Linked DNA regions of Homo sapiens: regions 2, 3 and 4 are each linked to region 1. Evidence: promoter capture Hi-C in 16 types of primary human blood cells and fetal thymus (Javierre and others, 2016). All regions are on one chromosome and are shown on one strand. The core of a region is centred on a gene start or on the middle of the fragment in contact, and the rest is flanking DNA. Distances in the headings are between cores, read along the strand shown. Region 1 holds the start of AHSP (alpha hemoglobin stabilizing protein). Region 2 has its middle 32 kb from the start of ZNF267. Region 3 has its middle 12 kb from the start of ITGAM. Region 4 has its middle 65 kb from the start of ZNF267.

Region 1 (7,378 bases), core at 4,850-7,349:
CAAGCAATTCTCCTGCCTCAGCCTGCAGAGTAGCTGGGACTACAGGTGCGTGCCACCACACCCAGCTAATTTTTTTGTATTTTTACTAGAGACGGGGTTTTACTATGTTGGCCAGGATGGTCTCGATCTCCTGAACTGGTGATCCACCCGCCTCAGCCTCCCAAAGTGCTGAGATTACAGGTGTGAGCCACTGCGCCCAGCCAATTTTTGTATTTTTTGTAGAGACAGGGTTTCCCTGTGTTGCCCAGGCTGGTGTCTTAGAACTCCTGGACTCTTTAGCCCAGCATGGTGGTACGCACCTGCAGTCCCAGCTACTTGGGAGGCTGAGGCAGGAGAATCACTTGAGCCTGGGAGGCAGAGGCTGCAGTGAGCTGAGATTGCACGACTGCACCCCAGCCTGGGCAACAGAGCAAGACTCCATCTAAAAAAAAAAAAAATCCTGGGTTCAAGTGATCCTCCCACCTCAGCCTCCCATGTCACTGGGACCACAGGCACGCACCACCACACCTGGCTAATTTTTGTATTTTTTGTAGAGACAGGGTTTCTCTATGTTGCCCAGGCTGGTCTCTTAGGACTCTTGGACTCAAGTGATCCTCCCAACTTGGCCTCCCAGTGTACTGTAATTACAGGCATGAGCTACTGCATTATTAATATATAAATGCATCAAACAAATGTATCGGGGATTCCAGTGGATTCTAAGTGGACTTGGACATGTTGGGATGTGCCTGGAACACTAGTGGGCATGGGCCGCCCATCTGCATTTGCAGGAGAACTGAAAAATATCCAGAAGGCAAAACCCTTTAGGAGCTACAAGAAGCAGGCCCTAGAGGAGAGTAAGGCAAGTGAGGCATGCAGGACACAACATTTAAGGAGGCCTCACTCTCAGGAGCTGTCCCTGCACTTTCACGAGCCTGCGAGAGAGGGCTTCCTTAAATTTCCCACTGATTCCTCTTTTGTCTCACCAAGTCACAGCCCTGGTAAGAAGCCAGAAGTGGCTGGGCTTGGTGGCTTATGCCTGTAATCCCAACACTTTGGGAGGCTGAGGCAGGCGGATCACCTGAAGTCAGGAGTTTGAGACCAGCCTGGCCAACATGGTGAAACTCTTGTCTCTACTAAAAATACCAAAATTAGACAGGCATGGCGGTGGGTGCCTGTAATCCCAGCTACTTGGGATGCTGAGGCAGGAGAATCGCTTGAACCTGGGAGGCGGAGGCTGCAGTGAGCCGAGGTCGCACCACTGCACTCCAGCCTAGATGACAGAGCAAGACTCCGTCTCAAAAAAAAAAAAAAAAAAAAAAAAAAGAAGCCAGATGTGTCCAGCTTGTTCCAGTGGTCAGAATTGGGCACAGAGTTTTATCATAAGAACGTGTTGCAGCTACTAATAGGAGTAAAAAGAAAGAATTTACTACAATGATGTAGCAGACATTTGTAATGCAATGTGAATATTTTGTTGTACAGATGGGGGTGGGGTGTCTTGCTGTGTTGCCCAGGCTAGTCTCAAATGCCTGACCTCAAGTGATCCTCTCAACTCAGCCTCCCAAAGTGCCAGGACTACAGGTGTGAGCAAATTGCTGAGTCTTGATGAGGGTAAGGGTCATGTTCCAGGGTCAAAGTCCAGCTGAGAGTCATCGTGAGGATCAGAGTGGGGGTCAGTGTCAGAGTGAGGATAAGGAGTGTGAGGCAAACATTCAAAGCCTGGGTCAGGGCGAGGGTCAGAGTCAGTTTCAGGGTCAGAGTTCATCACAGAGTGAGAAAGACTTAGTGCCAGGGTCAGGCTGAGTGTGTAGTTCAGGCTCAGCATAAGTTTCAGATTCACAGCAGGTTCAAGGACATGGTGAAGGTATGGATAAGGGTCCTTATAGAGTCAGGGTGAGGTCAGGATCAAGGAGACCATAAGGGTCAAGTCAGGGTCAGTGGAAAGTAAGCAGCAGAGTCAGGGTCAGGTAAGGGTCAGATTTATGGTCATGATGAGGGTTATGGTGACATTAAGATTTCCAGGCCAGGGGAGGGTCAAGTTGAGTGCCACTGTAGGGTTAGCTTCAATGTTCGGTTGGGATTAAGGGTGATGCTAAAACTGAAGGCAAAAGTGAGGGTCCGGGTCAAGTACAGAATCAGGGTCAGGGTGAGAACGAGATAGAGTGTGTAAGTGACAGTCAGGATCAGGGTCTGGTGAGTGTCACAGTCAGATGCAAGGTGAGAGTGAGCACCAGGGTAAGGCTCAGGTGTGAAGGAGGGGGTGGTGTCAGAACGAGAGCAAGGTCAGAGTCAAGGTGAGAGTGTATGCTTCAGGGTCAAGAGTCATGGTTAAAGGCCAGGTGCAGTGGCTCACACCTGTAGTCCCAGTGCTTTGGGAGGCTAAGGTGGGAGGCTTGCTTGAGGCCAGGGGTTCAAGACCAGCATGGACAACATAGTGAGACCCCATCTCTACAAAAAATACAAAAAAAAATAGCCAGGCATAGTGGCATGCACCTGTGGTCCCAGCTACTCAGGAAGCTGAGGTAGGAGGATCGCTTGAGCTCTGGAGGTCAAAGTTGCTGTGAGCCATGCTGGCACCACTGCACTACAGCCTGGGTGACAGAGCAAGACCCTGCCTCTTTAAAAAAAAAAAAAGTCATAATTATGATCACTGTCTAGGTCAAGTTGAGGATCAAGGGTCAGGGTCATAGTGAGGGTCAGAGTCAACATCATGCTAAGGGAAGGGTCAGTGAAGGTCAATTTCAGGGTAAGGGTCAGGGTAGGATTCAGGTTGAGGGTCAGAGACAGGGTGAAAATTAGGATCAGGTAAAGTTTAGGGTCCAATTCAGCATCAGGATCAGTATAAGAATGAGAATGAGAGGCAATGTCAGTGTGAGAGTCAGGGTCATTGTGAGGGCAAGGTGTCCATTATGATCAGGGGCAAGATGAAGCTAGAGGTGAGGCTCAAGTTCAGGGTCAGCTCTAGGTCAGGTTCAATATGAGGGTGAGGATAAGGGCAGGGTTATGGCTATAATGTTTTACCATTTATTTACAATCTTATTTCTAGTATTAATTCAGATACTGCTAAGCAAAAGAAGGTTATTCTTACTAATTCTAATTTATTTTCCTTCAGGAACAGTAATGGATTTGGGGCACTCTCTGCTTTAGTTATTTTATTTTTATTATTATGAACCATCAGGTTCATATCACCGTCTCTGAAAAATCAAAATATCCCCAATTTTACTTCTTGTAGATTTATAACCAGTCACTTCGTTGATAGTAATATGAGAGCAGAAAGTGCAGGTAACAGATTTTTCTGTCTTAAAAATATTTTTTGCAGCTTCTCAATTGCACAAGCTTATGGAATGGTCGGAATGGAGTTTCAATGTTGAACTTCCCAGTGAGAATCTTTTCTACCTTACACCTGTAATTGGTCATTTTCCTTTGAGCACCTGAGAAGTGCTTAGCTCAGCAGCTCCCATAGCTGGATAGTTATAAAGGTATGGAAAATTCCTCTTCATGAATTGAGCCAAAGCGGCTTCTAACATTCTTTTCAGCTAAGCTGAAAGACAAATACAGTGGTCCCTCCGTATCTGTGGGTTCCGCATCTGTGGATTCAACCAACCAAGGATGGAAAATATTTGGGGAGAAAAATGGATGGTTGCCTCTGTACTGAACATGTACAGGCTTTTTTTCTTGTCGTTACTCCCTAAATAATACAGTGTAACAACTATTTGCACAGCATTGACGTTGTAGTCGGTATTGTAAGTAATCTAGCCATGATGTGAAGTCCACGAAGAGATGTGCGTGGGTTACATGCAAACATTTCGCCATTCTGCATAAGGCACCGGAGCGTTGTGCTGTGCGCTCTCCTAGCGTCCCCCACTCACTTTCCTCCACCCACACACACCAGGCCAGGTCTCTCTTGCAAAGGTGAGGCTGCCGACTACTGTCCCGCCTGAGCGGGCTCTGGTCCTCACTCACAGACTGAGATTTCCTGAGAGGTGCCGTGGAGAAGGCCCCAGACTCTGCCTGGACCACCGACCCCAACCCAGAGGAGCTCGCCGCCTGCTTCCCTGGGAGGCGCCACTCTCCCAAGCTGGATCTAGGGCCGACCACACCCCAGGGTTGGAAGCACCGCTGGGGACACTGAGCGGGTTCCCTTTCCACCCTGATCCAGGCTGCAGAGACCTACAAAACAACAGTCGGTTCACAAGTCCCAGAGGAAAGCTTGCTGGAGGTTGGAACGAGGAGCAATCCCTCTGGGCCCCAAACTTTTCCCGCGTTAGAGAGAACACCGAAAAGGTCCAGAACTGCGCCCTCCAGCTCCCCGCGCGCACCCTGAGCCGCGTCTGATTGCTGTGCGGCGCCTCCTAGCCGCGCCCCCGCCCCGCGCACCCCCGCCCCCGCTCAGCACCCCGGGAACCCCCTCCCCCCGCGCGCCCCCGCCCCGCGCACCCTCCCCCGGAGGGCCCTCCCCTCTGCGCGTGGAGGCTTTTCCTGGAGACTGCGCCGCGGGTCTAACACCTTCATTTCGTTTTTAAAAAGCTCTTGAGTCTGGCCCGTCCCTGGTTCCGCCCAGAGCCCTAAAATAGAGGCTTCGAGTCTGGAGGTCTGGGAGAAAGGGAGCTAGACCGGGAATTGATCTGAGAAGCTTGGGGTGGGGGGAAGGCGGATTCCTCTGCTTCCCAATCCTGGCATCTGCGCCCAGGGATGTTGGAGCCAAAGGGAAGTGGCTTCCCCTCCTGAAATATAAGGGGCGCGCTAAAGGGTTCCCAGGATCCCTTCCAACTCTAAATTCCTGCGATGCCTGGGGCTCCGGGGAGGTATTTTGCGGTAGTCAGAGTCCGAAGATCCTAGAATGTAGTTTGAGCTGGGGCTAAGGACAGGGGATTGAAAAGTCGAGGCGGTGGACCTGGCGCAGGATGAACAAGACTGGGAGACTTCCAACAGTTTCCTCCTCGACAAGCAGGTCACAGGACAATGTCTGGAGGACTTCTATCCCCCTTTCTTGTTTCTGCCACCCCCTCCCCTGCAGCTCTGCACTCTCTCTAGTCCCGCCTTCCTGGCCCTCGTTCAGCCTGTTTTAGTTTAGAATCGCTGCCCGGTGGTCACTCAAGGCTGCTAACCTCTGCTGTAAGGAATTAAGCTTCCAAGAGCATATCTAAGAAGGAGGGCGGAAGGAAAGGGACCGAGTGCCTCCACATGTCAGGACAGACCATGAAAGAGAAGCCAGGAAGTCCAACAAAACCAGCACTGGTCTTTATTGAGGTGTCAGGGTAGAGTGGCAGGAGCACAGCCTAAGGACATGAAGGTCAGAGTTTCTCAGAGAGGAGGGGCTGGGTCCCTGAGCTAGGAGGAGGGCGGTGGGTGACTCGGGAGCTCATGAGACTTCAGGAAGTCCCTGTACTTGGCCAGGAAAGGGTTGGCCAGAGTGTTCAGCTCTTGCCGAAGCTCCTGCAGAGCCTTGTCTCGCTCTTGGGGCTCCCCTGTCACCTGCTGCCTGTAATAGTTGATGTAGAAGTTCATCCAGTCCTCCACCACAGTCACCATGTCTTCTTCAGAGACGAGAGGATCATTGAAGACCTGGGGGGTTGCGGAGAGGCAGTTGGCAAGGGAGAATGTGGTCAGCAATGGGATTCGGGAATACTAGAATAGTGCCACAGCACCAACTCTCACATTCTCTTTCCTCTGCATTGTATCCCGTGTCTCTCGTTGTTTCCATCAACTCCACCATTACTTCACCAGCTCCAATTATCCTCTTCCTCCACTTCCCCGGCACCCCCCAGTCTCCAGGCCAGTCCTTTGAAATGGAAAGCTTGGACTCACCTGCTGATTCAGCAGAACGCTGAACTCCTTCAATCCTGCGGAAATGAGATCCTTATTGGCCTTAAGAAGAGCCATCTGCCTGGGTAGAGAAAAGGGTAGAATTTACATATCTGTTTCCCTCCTCACTGGGTATTTCCCCCAACCCACTTCCTCCCCTTAAAAATCCCTCCTGCCCTGCAGGGCTATCTCCTTTCCAAAACCTTTCACATCCTGCCCTGCTCTGAGGTCACGATTTTCCCAGGTTGGGCTCACCTTCAGGTCTAACAGGCTGTATATGTCTCACCCACACTCTTGAGGGTGCGTGAATCTCTCTGTGCCAAGCTATAGATGTAGGCAAGGAGTCAAGTGTCAGCCTAAGATAGAAACGCCCTGCATCTAGGTCCTGAAGGAGGGTGATAGGTCATTCTAGGGAGGAGAAGAAGGGAGAGGCTTCCCTGAAGGTAGAAAGATAACAAGGCCAAAAAAAAAAAAAAAAAAGATAAATGAGGAAACCCAGGAAATGCAAGAAGGCAAGAGCCAAACCAGGGGCATGTTCCTGCTTTTTGCCCCATATTTCAGTATCCAGGCTCGAAATGCTATGGAAATTGACGTTTACTGAGCCCTATTACATGACAGAGGCTTTTGTGTAATCACAACGATGTGATCGCAATGATTCTCCCAATTCGGAGATGATGTATTAATAGCAGCTTGCATTACATTTATTCATTTGTGCCAAGCACTGTTTCAAACATGTACAAAATATTTATCCTATAAAATTTCTTTTTAGACACATTTTGCAGATAAGCCACCTGTAAGCGTGTGGACTGAACTCCACCACGCTGTGCTCCATAAGAATGGAGATAAATAGCCGGGCGTGGTGGCGGGCACCTGTAGTCTCAGCTACTTGGGAGGCTGAGGCACGAAAATCGCTTGAACCCAGGAGGCAGAGGTTGCAGTGAGCCAAGATCACACCACAGCACTCCAGCCTGGGTGACAGGGCGAGACTCCATCTCAAAAGAAAAAAAAGAATGGAGATGGATTTGTCTTGTTTACTACCCTGTCAACAGGTACCCAATAAAGCAGAAATACTCTTTTTCCTCTTTTTAAATATTTTTCCAGATATTTTCCATTTTCAGTAGATGTTTCTCAAATTTCAAAATCACTATATACTAATTGAAATAATTAAAACAATACAAAAACGTACACTGAAAAACTGAATCATTTTTGCCCCCTCCAAAGTAACCAGCATTAAACATTGTATATTTCCTGTCACTTTTTTTTTCCATTCAAAACCCAACATTCATAGGTGCCTATACACTCATAAAGCTTTGTTGATTTGCCTTTTTGGTTGTAGCATTTTTTAATCAATATACAGCAAAACTGACTTCCTTTTGGTGTACAGTATATTAAATTTTTTTTTTTTGAGAGGGAGTCTCCCTCTGTGGCCCAGGCTGGAGTGCAGTGATGCGATCTCAGCTCACTGCAAACTTTACCTCCCAGGTTCAGGCGATTCTCCTGCCTCAGCCTCCCAAGTAGCTGGGATTACAGGCGTGCATCACCACGCCTAGCTAATTTTTGTATTTTAGTAGAGATGGGGTTTCACCATGTTGGCCAG
Region 2 (6,978 bases), core at 4,352-6,851, 310 kb before region 1:
GAACCCAGGAGGCAGAGGTTGCAGTGAGCCAAGATCGCACCACTGCACTCCAGCCTGGCAACAGAGCAAGATTCTGTTTAAAAAAAAAAAAAAAAAATTAGCCAGGGCAGTGGTGTTCCCCTGCAGTCCCAGCTACTCCGGGAGGTAGAGGTAGGCGGATTACTTGAGCCCAGGAATTAGTGGCTGTGGTGAGCCACAGTCACACTACTGCTCACCAGCCTGGGTGACACAGTGAAACCCCCATCTCTAATAAAAAAAAGTAATAAAATAAAATTAGGTAATTTATTTTTTATGATTGTCAGGAACTTTTATATAGTTATAATGTACAACATAGTATTTGAAATATGTATATTTTGTGGTGTGGTTAAATCAAGCTACTTAACATACGCAGTACCTCACATATCATTTTTCTTTTGGTGTAAGAATACTTAAAATCTACTCTCAGCAATTTTCAAGAACGCAGTCCAGTACATTGTTGTTATCTGTAGTCACCATGATGTATATTAGATTTCTTGAACTTATTCCTCCATTCTAACTAGAATTTTATATCATTTGACCAACATTTCCCCAATCTTCTTACCACTTACTGCTTGGTAACCATCATTCTATTCTCTGCTTCTATGAGTTTAACATTTTAGCTTCCACATATGAGTATCATGTAATGTTTCTTTCTGAGCTGGGCTTATTTCACTTAACATGTCTTCCAGGTTCATCCACATTGTAGCAAATGACAGGATTTCCTTCTTTTTAAAGGCTGAATAGTATTCCACCATGTATATATACTAATACATACCCCTTTTTTTTTTTTTTTTGAGATGGAGTCTTGCTCTGTCAGCCAGGCTGGAGTGCAGTGGCTCGATCTCAGCTCACTGCAACCTCCGCCTCCCAGGCTCAAGTGTTTCTCCTGCCTCAGCCTCCCGAGTAGCTGGGACTACAGGTGGCACCACCATGCCCTGCTAATTTTTGTATTTTTAGTAGAGACAGGGTTTTTGCCATGTTGGCCAGACTGATCTTGAACTCCTGACCTCGGGTGATCTGCCTGGCTCTGCCTCCCAAAGTGCTGGGATTACAGGCGTGAGCCACCATGCCCAGCCCACTTTTCCTTTATCCATTCTTCTGTCAATGGACACTTAGGTTGATTCCATATATTGGCTATTGTGAATAGTGCTGCAATGAACATGGAATGCAGAGATCTCTTTGGCATACTGACTTCATTTCCTTTGGATATATACTCAGTAGTAGGATTGATGATTCAGATGATAGTTCTATTTTTATTTTTCTGAGGAAACTTCATACTGTTTTCTGTAATGGCTACACCAGTTTACATTCCCACTAACAGTGTACAAGGGTTCTTTGTTCTCCACATTCTTGTCAACAATTGTTTTCTTTTGTCTTTTTGATAATAGCTATTCAACAGGTGTGAGATGATGTCTCACTGTGGTTTTGATTTGCATTTCTCTGATGATTAGTGATGTTAAGCATTTTTCATATACTTGTTGGCCATTTATATATCTTCTTTTTTTTTAAGTTGACATATAATAACCATACATATTTATGGGGCATATAGTGATGTTTCAATATATACAATGAATAGTGATCAGATCAGGATCATTAGCATATCCATCATCTTGAACATTTATCATCTCTTTGTGTTGGAAGCATTCAATATCCTCCTTCTAGCTATTTGAAACTACATTGTAGGGGTTCAGTCAGGATGGTGGGAGAAATTGTAAAATAAATACAAACCTTCTTGGAAGGCCAGAAGGTTTTTGCAAAAGCCTCGGGATAGAGTTATGGCTGAAGGCAGCCTAATCCTCTTTGAGCTATAGCAAGGGTAATTAACATAAGAATGTAGAGGAATCCATCTAAATAGTTTGTTTACTTGGGTGGTCCTGACTAACCTTTGACCATCCGGGAGTGCATGATTGCCCTCTACTCAGTGGGTCAGTAGCCTGATTGCTCTCTACTCAGTGGGTTGTTATCAGTAATTACCTTCTAGTGGTGTTTACTTGAGACCTTTGTCATTTAATGTGTGCTGAATAAATGCGGGCAGGGCCAGCGAGTCGAGGCCGTGGCTGCAACTCTTTACAGACTCTCCTTGGAGTCTGTAAGTGGCCCGGACCCTCAGCTGGACTGACAAGCATAATATCTGTGTCAATGTATGTTATTCATTCTTCGTTGGGTCAGGGTCTGCAGGACAGACCCCCGCACTACACAGCATATTATTGTTATCCCTAGTCGTTGTACAGTGCTATAGAACACTATATGTTCTATCCTTTAACAAATCTCTCCCTATCTATCTCCCTTTCCCCTTGTATATATTCTTTTGAGAAATGCCTTTTCTCGTACTTTGTCCATTCTTTTTTTTTTTTTTTTTTTTTAGATGGAGTCTCGCTTTGCCACCCAGGCTGGAGCACAGTGGCAAAATCTTGACTCACTGCAACCTCCGCCTCCCAGGTTCAAGCATTTCTCCTGCTCAGCCTTCTGAGTAGCTGGGACTATAGGTGCCCACCACAATGCCTGGCTAATTTTTGTATTTTTAGTAGAGCCGGGGTGTCACCATGTTGGCCAGGCTGGTATCGAACTCCTGATCTGCCCACCTCAGACTCCCAAAGTGCTGGGATTACAGGTTTGAGCCACCTGGGATCACCGTGCCCAGCCATACTTTGCCCATTCTTTAACTGGGTCATTTGTTTGCCTGCTGTTGAGTTCCTTACATATTGTAGATATTATCCCCTCATCAGATGTATCGTTGTCAAATATTTTCTCCTATTCCGTAGGTTGTCTCTTCACTCTTTTGATTGTTGCCATTGCTATGTAGAAACAGTTTGGTGTAATCCCATTTGTTGATTTTTGCTTTTCTTGCTTGGGCTTTTAGGCTCATATCCAAAAAACCATTGCTTAGACCAATGTCATGGAGCTTTTCTACTTTGTTTTCTTCTAGTGGTTTTACAGTTTTAGTTCTTACATTTAACTCTTTGATCGACTTTGAATTTATTTTTGCAGATGGTGTGAAAAAAAGTGAAATTTCATTCTTCTGCATGTGAATATCTAGTTTTCCTGACAGCATTTGTTGTAGAAACTGTTCTTTCCCCACTGTGCGTTATTGGCAACTGTGTTGAAAATCAATTGACCATAAATGGGTGGGTTTATTTCTGGGCTATCTATTATGTTTCATTGGTCTATGTGTCTGTTTTTATACCTATAAAATACTGTTTTGATTAGTATGGATTTGTAGTATATTTTGAAATAGGTAGTGTGAGGCCTCCAACTTTATTCTTTTTGCCCAAGATAGCCTTGACTATTTAGGGTCTTTTGTGGCTCCATATAAATTTAGAATTGCTTTTTCTGTTTCTGTGAAAAAACATGTCACTGGAGTTTTGATAAGGATTGCATAGAGCCTGTGGATCATTTTGGGTGGCATAGACATTTTAACAATATTAATTCTTCCAACCCATGATGAATATGGGATATCTTTCCATTTATTTGTGTCTTCTTTAATTTCTTTCATCAGTGTTTTATGGTTTTCAATGTATGAGTCTTTCACTTCCTGGGTAATATTTGTTTCTAAGTATTTTTTTTAATGCTAAGTATCATAAATGGGATAGTTTTCCTGATTTTTTTCCCTGAGATAGTTCATTGTTAATGTGGAACTTTACTGATTGTTGTATGTTTATTTTGTATCCTGCTGCTTTACTGAATTTACCTGTTAGTTCTGACAGATTTCTTGAAATTCTTTCTTAAATGGACACATAATGAATGTACTTACTTACGGGGTAGAATGCAGTGTTATTCATAAAATCAAATGAACTAGCATGCCTCACACATTTATCATTTATTTGTAGTAGAAACATACAGGATGTATGATGCCAACAATAAGGTATTATATATCTCAAAAAGCTAACAGTTTTTTTGGTAGAGACTTTAGGGTTTTCTATGTATAATAGCATGTCATCTGCAAATAGCAACAATTTCACTTCTACCTTTCTAACTTGGATGCCGTTTATCTCTTTCTCTTGCTTAACTGCTCCGGCCAGAACTTCCAGTGCTATGTTGAATGGAAGTGGCAAGAGTAAGCATTCTTTCTTCATTCCTGCTTCTAGAAGGAAAGCTTTTAACTTTTCACCATTAAGTATGATATTAGCTATGGGTTTGTCATATATGACTTTTATTGTGTTGAGGTACATTGCTTCTATACCTAATTTGTTGAGAGCTTTTATCATAAAGGATGTTAAACCTTGTTAAATGCTTTTTATGCATCTATGGAGATGATCATATGGTTTTTGTCCTTCATTCTGTTACTGTAGTGTGTATTACATTTATAGATTTGTGTGTGTTGAATCATCCTTGCATCTCTGTGACAAATTCCATGTGATCATGGTGAATAATCTTTTTAATGTGCTGTTGAATTTTGTTTGCTAGTATTTTGCTGAGGATTTTTGCATTTATGTTCATCAGAGATATTGGCCTGTAATTTTCTTTTCTTGTAGTATCCTTGTCTGGCTTTGGCATCAGGGTAATGCTAGCCTCATAAAACGAATTTGAAAGTATTCCTTCTTCTTTAATTTATTTGAAGAGTTTGAGAAGGTTTAGTTTTTAAAATGTTGGTAGAATTCTTCAGTGAAGCCATCTGGAAACTGGATTAACTGGGATAGGACTGGAGCCTGAATACAAAGGAGCTGGTCTAGTGCTGGGGTGGCCCTAGGTCTGCAGGGTCCTGGGGCCTGGGTCTACCAGGGATAGCCGGAGCCTGTGTCTGCAGGGGTAGTCCTGGAGCCTCAGGTTGCAGTGACTGACCTGGAACTGGAGTTCACTTGGGTGAGCATGGATCCTGGGTTCACTGGAGTCTGAAGTTCGTGGGACTAGACTGAAGCCTAAGGCTAGCCTGGTGCTGGGGCAGGCATAGAGCCTGGGTTTGCAGGGGTGTGTCTGGAGCCTGGGATTGTGGATACTGGCCTGGAGCCTGGTCCATAGGGGATAGTCTGGAAGCTGGGTATGCAGTGCTGGCCTGGAGGCTAGGTCTTCGAGGGGTGGCCTGGGTCATGGGGCCATGGAGGCAGTCCTGGAGCCTGTGTCCATGGATGCCAGGTTGGTGCGTGATGACAGGGTGCCAACTTAGGGCTGGGGCAGGCTGAAGCCTGGGGCTGAAGGGGTGAACCTGGCTCTGGGCTTGGCTGGACCCTGGAGTAGTCCGGGAGGCTGGTCCATGGGTACTGGCCTGATGATGTAGGGCTGTGGAGCCAGCCTGGTGCTGGGGCAGATTGAAGCCTAGTGCTGGGAGTGGCTCAAAGTCTGGGTCAATTGGGGCTGGCCTGATACTGGGGAAGGCCCAGAGACAGTCTGTGAGGCTAGCCTGGAGCCTGAGAATGTGAGGAGAGGCAGAGAGCCTGGGTTTGTAGAGGTTGGCCTGTGCTAGGGCAGGCCTGAGGCCCATGGCCACTGGGGCTGGCCTGGTGGTGGGGCTGGCCTGGAGACCAAGCCTTCCAGGAAGGCCTGGAGCTTGAGGATGCAGAATCCAACCCAGTGCCTTGGTGGACCTGGCAGCTCAGTCTGCTGATGCCAGCCTGGACTTTGGGGTCATGGGGGCCTTCTTGGTGCTGGGTTTCACTGGGGTCGGGTAAAGGGCTGGTGCTGGGGTCCAAGGGAGGGTCCAGTGTTCACTTCCCTGTCCCACCTGGTGGAGGTGTCTCTTGCCAGACTGTGCTGCAGAATGTGGCATGTATGCTTAAGAAGAATATATATTCTTCTGCTGTTGGGTGAAAAGTTTTGTATATGTCTGTTAAGTTTATTTGGTGTATAGTGTTATTCAAGTTTCCCATTTCTTTATTAATTTTTTGTCTTCCACGAGTAGTATTCCATGGTGTGTGTATGTGTGACATTTTCTTTATCCAGTCATCTATTGATGGCCACTTAGGTTGATTCCATATCTTTGCTATTGTGAATAGTGCTGCAATAAACATATAAGGGCAGGTATCTTTTTGATATAACAATTTATTTTCTTTTACGTAGATACGAGGTAGTGGGATTGCTGGATTGAATTGTAGTTCTATTTTTAGTTCTTTGAGAAATCTCCATACTGTTTTCCACAGAGGTTGTACTAATTTACATTCCCACTAACGGTGTGTAAGGGTTCTTTTTTCTCTATATCCTCACCAACAGCTGTTATTTTTTGTCTTTTTTTTTTTGTTTTTTTTGAGATGGAGTCTCACTCTGTCACCCAGGCTGGAGTGCAGTGGCACAATCTCAGCTCACTGCAACCTCCACCTTCCAGGTTCAAGCAATTCTTCTGCCTCAGCCTCCTGAGTAGTTGGGACTACAGGTGCGTGCCACCATGCCTGGCTAATTTTTTTTATTTTTATTAGAGACGGGGTTTCACCGTGTTAGCCAGGATGGTCTCGATCTCCGGACCTCGTGATCTGCCTGCGTCAGCCCCCGAAAGTGCTGAGATTACAGGCGTTGAGTCACCATGCCCGGCTTGTCTTTTTAATGATAGCTATTCTGGCTAGTGTAAGATGATTTCTCATTGTGGTTTTAACTCGCATTTCTCTGATGATCAGTAATGTTAAGCATTTTTTCATATGTCTGCTGGCCATCTGAATATCTTCTTTTGAAAAATGTCTATTCATGTCCTTTTTCCACTTTTTTTTTTTCCCCGAGATAGAGTTTTGCTCTTGTTGCCCAGCCTGGAGTACATTGGCATAATCTTGGCTCACTGCAACCACCTCCCAGATTCAGGCGATTCTCCTGCCTCAGCCTCCTGAGTAGCTGGGATTATAGGCATGCGCCACTACGCCTGGCTAATTTTTGCATTTTTCATAGAGACGGGGTTTCTCCATGTTGTTCAGGCTGGTCTCAAACTCCTGACCTCAGGTGATCCACCCGCCCCAGGCTCCCAAAGTGCTAGGATTACAGGCATGAGCCACCATGCCCAGCCTTTTTCCACTTTTAAACAGGACTATTTATTATTTTTTTGTTGGA
Region 3 (7,526 bases), core at 1,082-3,581, 280 kb after region 1:
GCTCACACCTGTAATCCCAGCACTTTGGGAGGCTGAGGCAGGTGGATCACCTGAAGTCAGAAGTTTGAAACCAGCCTGGACAATATAGCGAAACCCTGTCTCTACCAAAAATACAAAAATTAGCCGGGAATGGTGGCACATGCCTGTAATCCCAGCTACTCAGGAGGCTGAGGCAAGAAAATCACTTGAACCCAGGAGGCGGAGATTGCAATGAGCCAAGATCACACCACTGCCCTCCAGCCTGGGCAACAGAGCAAGATCTCATCTCAGAAAAAAAAAAAAAAAGAATAAAAATATCCTAGGTCTATAAGTATGCCCTTGAACAACTTACTCTCTGGACCTCACTGTCCTCATCTGGAAAATGGGGGCAATAATTGTACTAACATCTTGGGGTGATTGTGATAGTTAAATGAGATAATAATAGATGTCAAAGTGCATGTAGTCAACATTCGCTGTAATCATTCTACCAACTGTGTTGGGTTGATGGATGACCTGGCCAGCGCACCCTCGATGACACACAGAGGTAGGTGGCTGAAAGCTGCCTGTCGCTCAGTGGGAAGCATTCTGGATGCTTCCCTTGCCACCTCAGTTGTCCATGCAGCAGGCCAAATGTCTGGCAGGCCAAGGAAATTGTTCTACCACAGGCTTTGTGAGTCCCAGGTGTTTCGACCAAGGTCACACAAAGAGCATGGTTGGCCACAGGTGACTTGCAGGGCAGCGACAGCCATTTCACCATCTCTAAGTTCTTGCCTCCCAACCTTGAAAGGAGGAGTTGCTCAGGGCCTAACCTGAGCAGGGCAGGAAACAAAACTACTAATTCCTGGAATAGGCTACTTGGTACTCAGTAAATCTCATGTTCTACTTGTTCTGTTGTTTTTCCCCAAAAGGCCCTAACTGATGTGTGACTTAACAGAGTTTTTGTAAGGGTTAAATTAAATAATGCATGTGAAAAGCTTAGCACAGTGCCTGGCATGTAAGATGCGCCCCCACCGGCAAAGATGATTATTTGTATTGGTGGAGACTAAGGTTCAACTGTTGTAATAAGACCCAAAATCACAGAGGCTTAGCCCAGACAGTCCTGTGATGGCCCCAGCATCAGCATTTGGGGGTTACGGAGGCTCCATGGTGTTGGAGATCCAGGCTCCCTCCAGCAGGTTGCTCTGCCATCCTGAGGGTTTTGTCTTCATCCGCCTGGTCAAAGACGGCCCAGCGCCAAGTCCACCCTCGGGCTGACAGGAAGGATAAAAAGAAGTGGTGCCTGGCAGGGAGTGGTGGCTCACGCCTGTAATCCCAGCACTTTGGGAGGCCGAGGCAGGCGGATCACCTGAGGTCAGGAGTTCAAGACCAGCCTAACCAACATGGTGAAACCCCATCTCTACTAAAAATACAAAAATTAGCTGGGTGTGGTGGCACATGCCTGCAATCCCAGCAACTTGGGAGACTGAGGCAGGAGAATCGCTTGAACTCAGGAGGCAGAGGTTGCAGTGAGCCGAGCTCAAGCCACTGTACTCCATCCTGGGCAATAGAGTGAGACTTTGTCTCAAAAAAAAAAAAAAAAAAATTGAGGCCAGGCACGTTGGCTTATGTCTGTAATCCCAGCACTTTAGAAGGCCGAGGCAGGCAGATCACTTGAGCCCACGAGTTCAAGACCAGCGCAGCAACATGACACAACCTTGTCTCTATAAAAATTACAAAAAAAAATTAGCTGGGCATGGTAGCATGTGCCTGTGGTCCCTGCTACTTGGGAGGCTTAGGTGGGAGGATCACCTGAGCCTGGGAGGTCAAGGCTGCAGTGAGTCAAGATTGCACCACTTTACTCCAGCCTGGGTAACAGAGCAAGAATCTGTATCAAAAAAAAAAAAAGCCAGGCACAGTGGCTCACACCTGTAATCCCAGCATTTTGGGAGGCCGAAGTGGGTTCACATGAGGTCAGGAGTTCGAGACCAGCCTGGCAAACATGGTGAAACCCCGCCTTTACTAAAAATACAAAAATTAGCCAGCCATTGTGGCGGGCGCTTATAGTCCCAGCTCCTTGGGAGGCTGAGGCAGGAGAATCGCTTGAACCTGGAAGGTGGAGGTTGCAGTGAGCCAAGAGCATGCCACTGCACTCCAGCCTGGGTGACAGAGTGAGACTCTGTCTCATAACAAAGAAAAAAAATGGTGGGAAGGCCCCTTTCCTTTAAAGGTGAGACCAAATGTTGCACACATCATTTCCTTCACATCTCATTGGCCAGGACTTAGTCACATGGCCACACACAACTGCAGTGGTGACTGGAAAATGTGATGTTATCCTAAGTATCTGTGTGCTAATTAATGGGGTTGCATTACTAAAGGAAGAAGAGGAAAGCACATGGGGGCAACTAGCTCTCTCTGCCACATATCATTATCATTACTCTAAGCACGCTCTGGATGAAACATCTTGTACAATTTGACAAAGTAACTATGGTCCTTAGGCATCCTTGACCTGATATAAGTATCATTACTGTCACATTCAGCTCAGGGCCTCTCTATTCAGAGCTTTACAGGCCTTGGGGTTTGGGGAGAGGCTGCAGATTCAACAAGAGCTTTCCTCCAGAAAAGTTTTATGTGCCTTAAATAAAGTGGGAAATTGAGGGAGAGGGGGGCTTCCTGGTTCCACATGAAGGAATACAGAGGTTGGAGAAAGGGTGGAGGCAAAGCCCTGAGGGGAGGCAGGCATCTCTCACTCCAAGGGGCTCCTCAGCAGAGGAGAGAGCCATGGTTAAGCTAAATAGCAACCCCAGGAACACCTCAGCTGTACTTCAGCTACTGGGGACCACAAGCAAGAGATGGACCCAGCTTGGAGTCTAGAGAGAGTCAGGGCATTTCCAACCACATATGGGTACCAGTCATGTGGAACCCCTGCCATCCCTTCAATTCTTTCCTCTCAATCTCTCACCCTGGGGGAGCCACAAACAGAAGGAAGAGAAAAAGGAGGAGAAGTAAAAGGGTGGATCACACACCCTGGCCCCTCAAAGTCCCTAGAGCTAGCATTAAACTGTATATGGTGTGATGACTTGGAGATTATGCCCATCTTTCCACTAGACTCTTCATTCAACAGGTATTAACTATGTGCCAGGTGCTGCTCCAGGCTCAGGGAAATGGATGTGAACGAGAGAGGAAACCTCCCTACCTTTAAGGAGCTTACGTTCTTGGGGGGTGATAAACAATGGCTGCCTTGAGAGCAGTGACTATGTCCTGCTCATGGCTTTATCCCAGGACCCAGCACCTTATCTGGCTGGGGCTCACTGAGTGTTGCTTAGATGAACCACATCACAATTGAGTTTGTGTGGACACTTGTGGTTATCTCCCCAGCATCCAGTTTCCCCCTTCCCAGCGACTCTCAATTTCCACTTGGAGGACTACGTGGTTTGGGAAGAACTGACTTTGCCCCAGGTCTGAGGGTGGAGCATGTGAACTACACTAAGACAATCCAACTATTCTATCGCTCTGACATAAGTCGTTGGTTCAAGTGTGGGCATGTGTCTAATCAAAGTGGATCTCAGGACAAAGATGTTTTTTCTCCTCCTAGTGTGATGTAAAACCTGGAACCACTGCAGCTATTTTTGCTACTGTGGTGCTGGGATTACAGATGTGAGCCACTGCACCCGGCCAAAAATTTTTTTAAATTTAAGAAAAGAAATCAAGGGAGATAAGAAATGATTACTGTTGTTTTAAGCCTCTAAGCTTAGGGTCATTTGTCATGCAGTTTCAGATAATTATTAGGTGGGTGCAAATGTAACTAAAGTAATTAAAGTCATGGCCAAAACCGCAATTACGTTTGCATCAAACTAATAGTACAATTGACTATTGGGTGTGTCTGGAATACCATCCTTCTGCTTCTTTTTGTTTTCCTTAGAAACTCCTACTTGCTCTCCAAGGGCCAACTCAAGTTGTCACCTCTTCTGAGAAGCCTGCCCTAATTTTCCTGCTTAACCCCAAGCTCTGTTACACACAGCTCTATTAGCAGTCCTCACACTGTGATCTTATTGTTTATGAGGTTATTTCTCTCACTATAGCTTTTTGAAGGCAACAATTTTGAATTATCCAAATGCATACGCCTAAGACTGAGCATGGTATGTGCTACATTAAAAAGGAGTTTGATGAAGTTTGGTTGAATAAATAAATAATGGAAACTTCAGCTGTGGACAAGACAAAGAATGCTGGCGGGGTGCGGTGGCTCACGCCTGTAATCCCAGCACTTTGGGACGCCAAGGCGGGCGGATCACAAGATCAAGAGATCAAGACCATCCTGGCCAACATGGTGAAACCCCATCTCTACTAAAAAATACAAAAATTAGCCGGGCATGGTGGCGAGCACCTGTAGTCCCAGCTACTCGGGAGGCTGAGGCAGGAGAATCACTTGAACCCAGAAGGCGGAGGTTGCAGTGAGCTGAGATCATGTCACTGCACTCCAGCCTGGGGGACAAAGCAAGACTCCGTAAAAAAAAAAAAAAAAAAAGAGAGAGAGCGCGCACAAATTCAGATGTAGTTATAGACATGCAAATTAACTGGTTGATGTGAACGACACAGCTAATAAGGTAGCATTAATAGATGTATGTCATGCCTGTAGTGCCAGCTACTTGGAGGGTCAAGGGCAGGAGGATGGCTTGAGCTTAGGAGTTCAAGGCTGCAGTGAGCTATGATGTACTGCACTCCTGCACTCCAGCCTGGGCAACAGAGCAAGATCCTGTCTTTAAAAAAAAAGATGAATAGGCTGTGTGTGGGTGTGTGGTGGCTCACGCCTGTAATCCCAGCACTTTGGGAGGCCAGGGAGGATGGATCACTTGAGGCCAGGAGTTTGAGACCAGCCTGGCCAACATGGCAAAACCCCATCTCCACTAAAAATACAAAAATTAGCCAGGCATAGTAGCACATGCCTTTAAGTAATCCCAGCTACTTGGGAGGCTGAGGCATTAGAATCGCTTGAGCCTGGGAGGCAGAGGTTTCTGTGAGCCGAGATCGCACCACTGCACTCCAGCCTGGGCGACAGAGCAACACTCTGTCTCAAAAAAATAAATAAATAAAGCTTTTTAAGCACTAAAACTCATTTCACAAATACCATTCCAATTTCATGCCACAGAAAGGCAGAAATGATACATACCACATCCCTGATTAAGGTAAAATCAGAAATGATAGATTAAGGTAAAAACAGAAAATACTGAAAATATAACTAAAAGTGCCTAATTCTTGAAAATTGAAAATGTAGAACAAATAGTCAATACATACTATAATGACATACTGTATTTTACAATAATAATAATAATACATAATAAAAACTGACACTGATTGAGAATTTACTCTGTGCCAGACATGGTTCTAAGTGATTAGCATGTGTTCACTCACTGACCCTTCATAGAAATCCTATGAAGAAGGTATTCTAGCCCCATTTTGCAGATGAAGAAACTGAGGCACATGGAAGTTATGTAACCAGGCTGGGTGCAGTGGCTCACACTGGGACTTTGCGGGGCTGAGGTGGGAGGATCACTTGAAGCTAGGAGTTCAAGACCGATAATATAGCAAGACCTCTTCTGTTGTGGGAAGCCCGGAACCCCTAATGGAGGGACCAGCTGAAGCCATGGCAGAAGAACATAAATTGTGAAGATTTCATGGACATTTATTAGTTTCCCAAATTAATACTTTCATAATTTCTTATGCCTGTCTTTACTGCAATCTCTGAACATAAATTGTGAAGATTTCATGGACACATATCACTTCCCCAATCAATACCCTTGTGATTTCCTATGCCTGTCTTTACTTTAATCTCTTAATCCCGTCATCTCGTAAACCGAGGAGGATGCATGTCACCTCAGGACCCGGTGATGATTGTGTTAACTGCACAAATTGTTTGTAGAGCATGTGTGTTTGAACAATATGAAATCTGGGCACCTTGAAAAAAGAACAGGATAACAGCAATGTTCAGGGAATAAGACAGACAACCTTAAATTCTGACTGCCGGTGAGCCAGGCGGAACAGAGCCATATTTCTCTTCTTTCAAAAGCAAATGGGAGAAATATCACTGAATTCTTTTTCTCAGCAAGGAACATCCCTGAGAAAGAGGATGCATCCCTGAGGGGAGGCCTCTGAAATGGCCGCTTCGGGGGGCAGCCGTCATTTATGGTCAAAGCTGTAGGGATGAAATAAGCCCCACTCTCCCATAGCGCTTCCAGGTTTATTAGGACGAGGAAATTCCCACCTAATAAATTTTGATCAGACCGGTTGTCTGCTCTCAAACCCTGGCTCCTGGTAAGATGTTATCAATGACAATGCGTTCCTGAAACTTCATTAGCAATTTTAATTTCACCCCAGTCCTGTGGTCCTGTGATCTCGCCCTGCCTCCATTTGCCTTGTGATATCTTATTACCTTGTGAAGCATGTGATCTCTGTGACCCACATCCTATTCGTACACTCCCTCCCCTTTTGAAAATCACTAATAAAAACTTGCTGGTTTTACGGCTCAGGGGGCATCACAGAACCTGCTGACATGTGATGTCTCCCCTGGACACCCAGCTTTAAAATTTCTCTCTTTTGTACTCTGTCCCTTTATTTCTCAGACCAGCTGACACTTAGGGAAAATAGAAAAGAATATTCTATGTGAAATATCAGGGGTGAATTTCACCCGATATCTGGCTGAATTTCCCTCAATACTCATCTCTACAGAAAAATTTAAAATTCACACCACTGCATTCCAGCCTGGGCAACAGAACAAAACTCTGTCCAAAAAAAAAAAAAAAAAAAAAAAGCCAGGCACAGTGGCTCACGCCTGTAATCCTAGCACTTTGGGAGGCCAAGGCGAGCAGATCACCTGACGTCGGGAGTTCAAGACCAGCCTGACCAACATGGAGAAACCCCATCTCTACTAAAAATACTTTTTAGCCGGGCATGGTGGCACATGCCTGTAATCCCAGCTACTCAGGAGGCTGAGGCTGAGGCAGGAGAATCACTTGAACCTGGGAGGTGGAGGTTGCGGTGAGCTGAGATCACACCATGGCACTCCAGCCTGGGCAACAAGAGTGAAACTCCATCTCAACAAACAAGGCCAGGCGTGGTGGCTCACGCCTGTAACCCCAGCACTTTGGGAGGCCAAGGCAGGCGGATCACCTGAGGTCGGGAGTTTGAGACCAGCCTGACCAACATGGAGAAACCCCATCTCTACTAAAAATACAAAATTAGCCGGCGTGGTGGCGCATGCCTGTAATCCCAGCTATTCGGGAGGCTGAGGCAGGGGAATCCCTTGAACCTGGGAGGCAGAGTTTGTGGTGAGCCGAGATCGCACCATTGCACTCCAGTCTGGGCAACAAGAGCGAAACTCCATCTCAAAAAAAAAAAGGAGGAAGAGAATATAGCTTTTTAAACACTAAAACACATTTCACAAAAACCATTAAGCATTTTTAGTTGTCTAGGGTGGTACACACCTGTAGTTTCAGCTACTCAGGAGGCTGAGGCAGAAGGATCACTTGAGCCCAGGAGGTCAAGGCTGCAACGAGCCACAGTCATGTGACTGCACT
Region 4 (7,208 bases), core at 2,797-5,296, 280 kb before region 1:
AAATCTTTCCACCAATTTCTTACTAAATTAAACACAATTTTCTGTAGAATTCTGCCAATTTTTTTTGCATTGATGAACATAGTCACATGACATTCTCATTCAATTAATGTGATTAATTTCATCATTGAATTTCTTAATATTGAATCATACTTCCCTTTATAAGATAAAGGGTGATTGATTATGCATCAATATACTGATGCAATGGTTTCTAATATTTAATATTTTCACTCTTAAATTTGCATGTTCTATTTGTCTATAGTATTCCATATGGCTAAATCTAGGCAAGGTTCGAGTATCACCTTTATAAACCCTTCCTAAAAAGTATTTCAGGAAAGATTGACCACACTATAACTCTTGAGAAGTTTAAGTAGCATTGGTTTATGGATTACTTTATCGGTAGAATTTCCCTTTCAACTACATAAACTTGGTGTTTGTGTGTGTGTGAGGAAATTCCTTATTAAATGTCTTTGTTTCTTCTATGAATATTGCTCAGTTTAGAGTCTATCTCTATTGAGTTACATTTTGATAAAACATATATTCCAAACACACACACACACACACACACACACACACACACACACACATACATATGCAGTCTACATGTGTGTATCAACTTGCATTGAATTACACAGATGTCTCTATTTTCTTGGTCAATATTGAACCTCACGTTCTTCCTGGCACTGTAAACTGTTGACAAATACTTCTCAAGTTACTTGTGTGATCCCATTTCTCTATTTATAATTCAATGATTGTTCATTTAAAGAATTTGGGGAGTAACAGAAAATGAGAGTTTCAGCAAAAACACATCCCAGGAGGCACAGAATCCAGCACCCACCGCGCTTCATTGTCATCCCCTTCTGTCTCCGACTCCGCATTTTCTGCTTCCTCCAAGATAGCCCCTGTCTGCCTCAAAGGATCATGGAAAAGCAGAGCCTCTCCAGGCACTGCCATCTCTCTGGAGGTGCTGCAGGGAAGTTGTCATTGTTTTTGGTAATTGTAACTGGGACAAAGGTTTTCAAAAATATTTTCAATTCCCCAAGTGTGTACTGTCATTGCTGCCACAGGTAAAGTATAATTGCAGTGCGGTGGGGAGGTGAGGTCGCAGGGTCCCGAGCCCATATCTCAGACCTGGCCGCCTCCCTCCACACACTCCCTGGCCGTGACAGTCACTGGTTTCCACAGCCCAGCAGCAGGGAGGCGCCTGGTGGGTGTGTTACATTTTGATCTGTGAGAGAGCACCTGTAAGGTTAGGAAGTTGTCAGGAGGTGGGGTAAATGCTCTGGTGTGGAAAGAGGACTCCACTGGGCCAGAAACTGACCAGTGTCAAGGCCATGTGGGGAAAGGAAATAATGGCTGGGTCATGGGCTAAGTTGTGGAGAGGGAGCAAAGTTCCAAGAGCATGAGCCAGTCCCCAGCTGCAGCTCACTTAACAAAATCCTCATGCTTGTCATTGTCGGTTTTTGATGGAAGAAGCCAAAAATCTGTTTTTAAGTTTTTTTTTTTTAATTTAAGACGGATTCTTGCACTGTCACCCAGGCTGGAATGCAATGTTGCAGTCTCAGCTCACTGCAACCTCTGCCTCCCAAGTTCAAGCAATTCTCCTGCCTCAGACTGCTGAATAGCTGGGATTACAGGCGCCTGCCACCACGCCCGGCTAATTTTTTGTATTTCTAGTAGAGATGGGGTTTCGCCATGTTGGTCAAGATGGTCTTGAAGCCCTGATCTCAGGTGATCCACCAGCCTCGGCCTCCCAAATTGTGGGGATTACAGGCCTGAGCCACCGTGCCTGGCCCCCAAAATCTGTTTTTGTTGATCCTTCTTGTCTAAGATCTCCTTACCTGTTAAGTGGGAAGAATGCATTTTTTAAAAAAGTTTCCTAGAATAATTTGGAAATTAATCCGCTAGCTGTTCTATCAATTCCACAAGAATCAGAAAGATTTCTAGGATGAATGGAAGCATTTCTACAATTCCTTCATGCCTGTGATAATGTATAAGATGTAGCTGATTAAATTATCTTATTCTTCTCAAAAGTATTAAACATAGGGCTTTAACCTACTCTGGACATATAAAGTACCTAATGGAGACCGTGATGTGTGGTGACAGGAAACATCTGGTCTCTGAGAATGACGAAAAGACCATATTCTTTCATGAAGTCAGGGGAGGAGCGGTCAAGGAAAGGTATCTTGATGACCTTAGGTTTTCATATTAGAACAAAAATCAAGGACTTCAGTCGTTTTCTGAAGTAAATTATTTGGTAATATTTACTCTGTCTTCAAAAATGTTCTGAAGCCATTCTTAGGCTCAATACTCATCTTAGTAACACTTAATTCAGTGAATAATTTTCCCTACCTCGAGTTTTCCTTTTACATAACAGACTTATATTTTAATATACCTAACAATTCTGACATTGAAATAATTTTTTTTTTGAGATGGAGTCTTTCTCTGTCACCCATGCTGGAGTACAGTGGTGGGATCTCAGCTCACTGCAGCCTCCGCCTCCGGGGTTCAAGCAATTCTCCTGCCTCAGCCTCCCAAGTAGCTGGGACCACAGGTGCATGCACCACCATGCCCAGCTAATTTTTGTATTTTTAGTAGAGATGGAGTTTCATCATGTTGGCCAGGCTGGTCTCGAACTCCTGACCTCAAATGATTTGCCCACCTTGGCCTCCCAAAGTGCTGGGATTATAGATGAGAGCCATGGTGCCCAGCCTGAAATAATTTCATTTGATATTTTTGTATTCATAAACAAATACTAAATTTATCTGTAATTCATGACAACCTGTTTCTCCTTTGCACTGTTTTATCTCCTACTCATGTCCCTTGACCCCTTGCTTAGCAACAGTCATTTCTGTATCCTTCTTGGTTAAGATGAGAAAGAATCTTCTTTTTTAATTTCAGCATGAAATCATTTAAGCATTCAATAAATATCATTTGGTCTTGTATGATTATTCTTTTAGGATTATACTAAATCAGTGCATCTATATTCTACTTGGATTTCTGAATCATTATAGGTGATATTTGCTCATGAAATAAGCACTTAGATTTAAATGAGAAATTGCCACAATCAAAAATGAAGAAAAAACTACATCCAGGTTTAAAGAAAGCGACAATATATACAACATGAAATGTGTGAAGCATTAAAAAAATACTATGTCCAAGGGTGAGACACACAGTGATTAAACACATTGTCCAATTTTGATTCTGCCTCTTACAAAGCAGTTACTTTAGAAAATTCATTAAGCTTCCTTGTGTAAGATCTTCTTACCTGTAAAATGGAAATAGTAAAGCACTTATACCACAGAATTATTGTAAAAGTTACATGCAAAACACTAATATAGTACTCCTCTCATGGGGATGCATATGTTCTTCTTTTTAGAGCAAAACTCTTATTTAAAAAACAGGGTCTAATAAGAAAATGTCTAAGTTGGAAACAATGGTAAGTGTACAATAGTGGATTTTATTTGCAAAAGTGAAACTTTATGTTTCCACACAGGGTTCTCTCACTTTGAATGTAATTATCAGTCACTGAAAAATGACAAATGGCCTCCAAGGATTTTGCAATAGGCATGATCTTATTATCTCAGATCATGGTCGGATTCCTGGGGAATTTCTTTCTTCTCTACCACTATAGTTTCCTTTGTTTCACCAGAGGTATGTTACAGTCCACAGATCTGATTCTCAAGCACCTGACCATAGCCAACTCCTTGGTTATACTCTCTAAAGGAATCCCACAAACAATGGCTGCTTTTGGGTTGAAAGATTCCCTCAGTGATATTGGATGCAAATTTGTGTTTTATGTTCACAGAGTGGGCAGGGCTGTGTGCACTGAGTGTCTTCCAGGTCATCACCATCAGCCCCAGTGAATTCAGGTGGGCAGAGCTGAAGCTACATGCTCACAAATACATCAGGTCTTTTATCCTGGTCCTGTGCTGGATTCTGAACACGCTGGTAAATATTACTGTTCTTCTACATGTGACTGGCAAGTGGAACAGCATAAATAGCACAAAGACAAATGATTATGGATATTGTTCTGGAGGAAGTAGGAGCAGAATTCCACATTCATTACATATTGTCTTGTTATCATCCCTTGATGTTTTGTGTTTGGGGCTCATGACCTTGGCCAGTGGCTCCATGGTTTTTATCCTGCACAGGCACAAGCAGCAGGTCCAGCACATTCATGGGACCAACCTCTCCGCCAGATCCTCCCCTGAGTCCAGAGTCACCCAAAGCATCCTGGTCCTGGTGAGCACCTTGTGTTACTTTACTCGCTCTCCTCCATCTTTACATATGTCTCTTTTTCCTAATCCCAGTTGGTGGCTGTTGAACACCTCTGCACTGATCACTGCCTGTTTTCCCATGGTCAGCCCCTTTGTGCTCATGAGCCGCCATCCCAGGATACCCAGGCTGGGCTCTGCCTGCTGTGGAAGGAATCCACAGTTTCCTAAGCTGGTCAGATAGTTCTCCGATTTATGTGGATTGTCTTCTTTTTGTATAATGAATGGCCGTTTGTTGATTTCTTCCTGCAGGTTAAGCACCGCAATGGGCAGTCAATTGCAGTGTATATAAGACTCAGAATCCGTCTTTGCCCTTCAAGGATTTTTCACGTATCATAAACAACAGTTACAGATGAAATGTTTTTGCAAAGTGCTTTCATAATTTTCATTTTGTTTGTAATTTCATAATTTTCATTTTGTTAATGTTGCAATGGAGAAGTTAAGAGGCAAATTATTAATTAAAAATGGGCCTCTAATAAGTTGGAACAATGCAACTTTAAACCAATTAATAAAAAATGTCATGGAATTAACTGGGCACAGCAGTGTAAGAAAAGTTTGATGAAATAAAGAAGCTTAAGTAATGATCAATGAAGAAAGTGAGAAGAAAGTCATAGTTCATGTCCTTTTTTGTTTTGAATTAATCTTCATTTTTTCCTATTTTCAAGTTGTAAAATTTTCTTTTTGTCCTTGATAATTATACTTTATTGAGACTAGTTTTGGTTATTTTTTAAAAATTCTGTCCCTCTATAATTTTTCTGATGTGTAGATCCTGTATTCATGCTTCTTATATTTGTTCGTTTAAAATGAAAAGTTTATTTGCTGACTACACCAAATAGGATGCAAGCACTGTCATGACAGAAATATGCAGCAGATCAACATACAACAGTAATTTAGTTTAAATGAAGGGAAATCTGTAAATGTTACGACAACGTACTCCCAAGAAGAACCCTTTCTTCAGTTAAGTTAATTATACATTTCAATAAAATAAAGGGTAATGGATTAGTGGAAGTTAGCTTGTGAATTTTTCTTAAAAATAAAACTCCAACTCTATTAATCCATGCCAGTTAAACACTGTAACTAAAATTTCCAAATAAGCACAAAAGGAGATGAAGCAATTAGTTACCTTTTCTGCTTGAACGGTCTGGAGGAAAATGGTTACTATAAATACAGCAGGCAAACTGTTAGAGTGACCTATCTAGAACATAGTGTACTAAATTTCAGTCTCAAATTGTACTAAATGCTCATCATTAGTATGGCACATTTGGTCCATGATGTGGTTTAACGCCAAGACAGATCCCAATTTGTTACAGAAACACATAGATTACTGTTGCTTTTTGTTTTTAAATACATATATTTTAATAAGCCAGGTATACTTCCACATACAAAGGCAGGTTTCCCAGGAGAAATTTATAGGAAGTAGTCTGGGGTGTGCTGTGTAACATGAGGCTCGCCACAACAAAGTGCTGGGTCAAACTGAAGGAAGGAATATCTTAAAGCGTCATCTAGTTCCATGATCGCAGCCTGGTTACCACAACAATAACAGTAATTGGGTGCACTGAAAATAGTAACCACATTCTGATCATGACACCAATGGTATCCCTCCATTACAAGCTGGTGGGCACGAGAAACCAGTGTGAGACCATTGGCATGGTTAAAGGTTTCAGAAATGTCTTGTCCAAATGTGTAGCCAGCACACAGGGTGAAATACCCCATCCACCACGATCATCTGGATCTGACCGTAATAGATCATACATTGGGCCCTCATGTGGAACTTCTTGTAAATGACCCAGGGCTCTTATATGATCCAGTGTGTATGTGGATGGAGACAGGCCACCATGGAGGCAGAATATCTGTCCATCTACTAAAGTTATAAGTGGAAGATAATCAAAGAGATCTGTAAAGTATTTTCAAACATTGGCATTCCCATACTTTCGCGGACATTCATCATAAAAGCCATATACTTGGGTAATTTGTTGGCTTTTGTGATTTCCTCTCAATATTGTAATGCATTCTGGATAATGAATGCTACAAGAAGAGTCACAGTCTCCACTGAATAATATCCTCTGTCTACATAGTCACCCATTAATAAGTAGTTTGTATCTGGTGATTTTCCACCAATTCTAAAGAGTTCCATAAGATCATGTAATTGACCATGCACATCTCCACAGACAGTATCAGGGCAACGAACCTCTTGCACATCTGATCCTTTTGTTAAAATTTCCTTTGCCTTCTCGCACAATTTTTTGTGGGAGGAGAGTGGTCCATTTCAAATATTTTAAGGTAAAAATGGATGCAGTGGTCTGGGTGGAGTGAAATGAGCACAGGACTGTAGAAAGAGGTTTTCATTAGAATTTGACTCACAGCCGATGAATATGAGACTCATCAAGAAAACTGCCTAATTTTCGGGACCCTGTGAGGGTAGACTATGCTGTATTAGCAATAATCCCAATTAGCCTGTTCAGAAGAAATAAGCATCAGGGTGACCTCTGGGAAGTGAATCTGGTGGAACCAGTCACCGTCGGTGGAGGAGCCGACGCCAGGGACCCTGGGGAGGCTTATGCTTCCCTTTTTCTAGGGAGTTGGTGGTAATTGCTGCCTTGAAATATTCAAGGAAGCCCATTTGAAAGAATCATAAAACAAATGGGGTAATCATGTAGCTGAAGTGAAAAATTTCCACAGACATTTTCTTATTATTGTTAGGTAAAGCAGGTAAAATGTCTTGAAAATTCAAATATTTGAAAAATACAATGCATAAGTTTGGCCTAATGGACATATATCGAAATTGGGCTATGTGTTGCATTACTCAGCAATATAGAACGATTGAAATAATGCAATCACAAAGGGAGCTTTAATGAATGTAAAATATTTTAATCATAGAGATTAACCTTGCCACTATTAAATATTTTTAAATAGCTTATGAAGCAATTTTAAATA

Evidence for each region. Contacts are between HindIII fragments. The CHiCAGO score rates a contact against its expected background, and 5 or more counts as called.
Region 2: a contact is called between a fragment that was not itself captured here and the fragment with the promoter of AHSP in region 1, in 10 of 17 cell types (M1 macrophages, naive CD4 T cells, total CD8 T cells and 7 more). The highest score is 10.1, in M1 macrophages.
Region 3: a contact is called between a fragment that was not itself captured here and the fragment with the promoter of AHSP in region 1, in 1 of 17 cell types (endothelial precursors). The highest score is 5.1, in endothelial precursors.
Region 4: a fragment that was not itself captured here is called in contact with the fragment with the promoter of AHSP in region 1 in 16 of 17 cell types (total CD8 T cells, activated CD4 T cells, naive CD8 T cells and 13 more); the score reaches 16.2 in total CD8 T cells.

What each region holds. Positions count from the first base shown.
Region 1 is chr16:31,526,621-31,533,998 of GRCh38, reverse strand. It overlaps AHSP (alpha hemoglobin stabilizing protein), which reads right to left and starts at 6,099. Exons shown (of 3, transcript NM_016633.4): 1 at 6,037-6,099; 2 at 5,785-5,863; 3 at 5,196-5,541. The coding sequence starts at 5,859. The coding sequence ends at 5,308. The HindIII fragment of the contact is 1,316 bases long and covers 5,776-7,091 here.
Region 2 is chr16:31,838,005-31,844,982 of GRCh38, reverse strand. No RefSeq gene overlaps it. Among named protein-coding and RNA genes, the nearest start is that of ZNF267, 32 kb to the left of the region's middle. RefSeq lists an enhancer at 1,303-2,212. The HindIII fragment of the contact is 2,976 bases long and covers 4,114-6,978 here.
Region 3 is chr16:31,244,467-31,251,992 of GRCh38, reverse strand. No RefSeq gene overlaps it. Among named protein-coding and RNA genes, the nearest start is that of ITGAM, 12 kb to the left of the region's middle. RefSeq lists enhancers at 5,597-6,099, 6,605-7,108, 7,109-7,526. The HindIII fragment of the contact is 2,752 bases long and covers 956-3,707 here.
Region 4 is chr16:31,805,176-31,812,383 of GRCh38, reverse strand. It overlaps the pseudogene PPP2CBP1 and the pseudogene VN1R3. Among named protein-coding and RNA genes, the nearest start is that of ZNF267, 65 kb to the left of the region's middle. The HindIII fragment of the contact is 1,605 bases long and covers 3,244-4,848 here.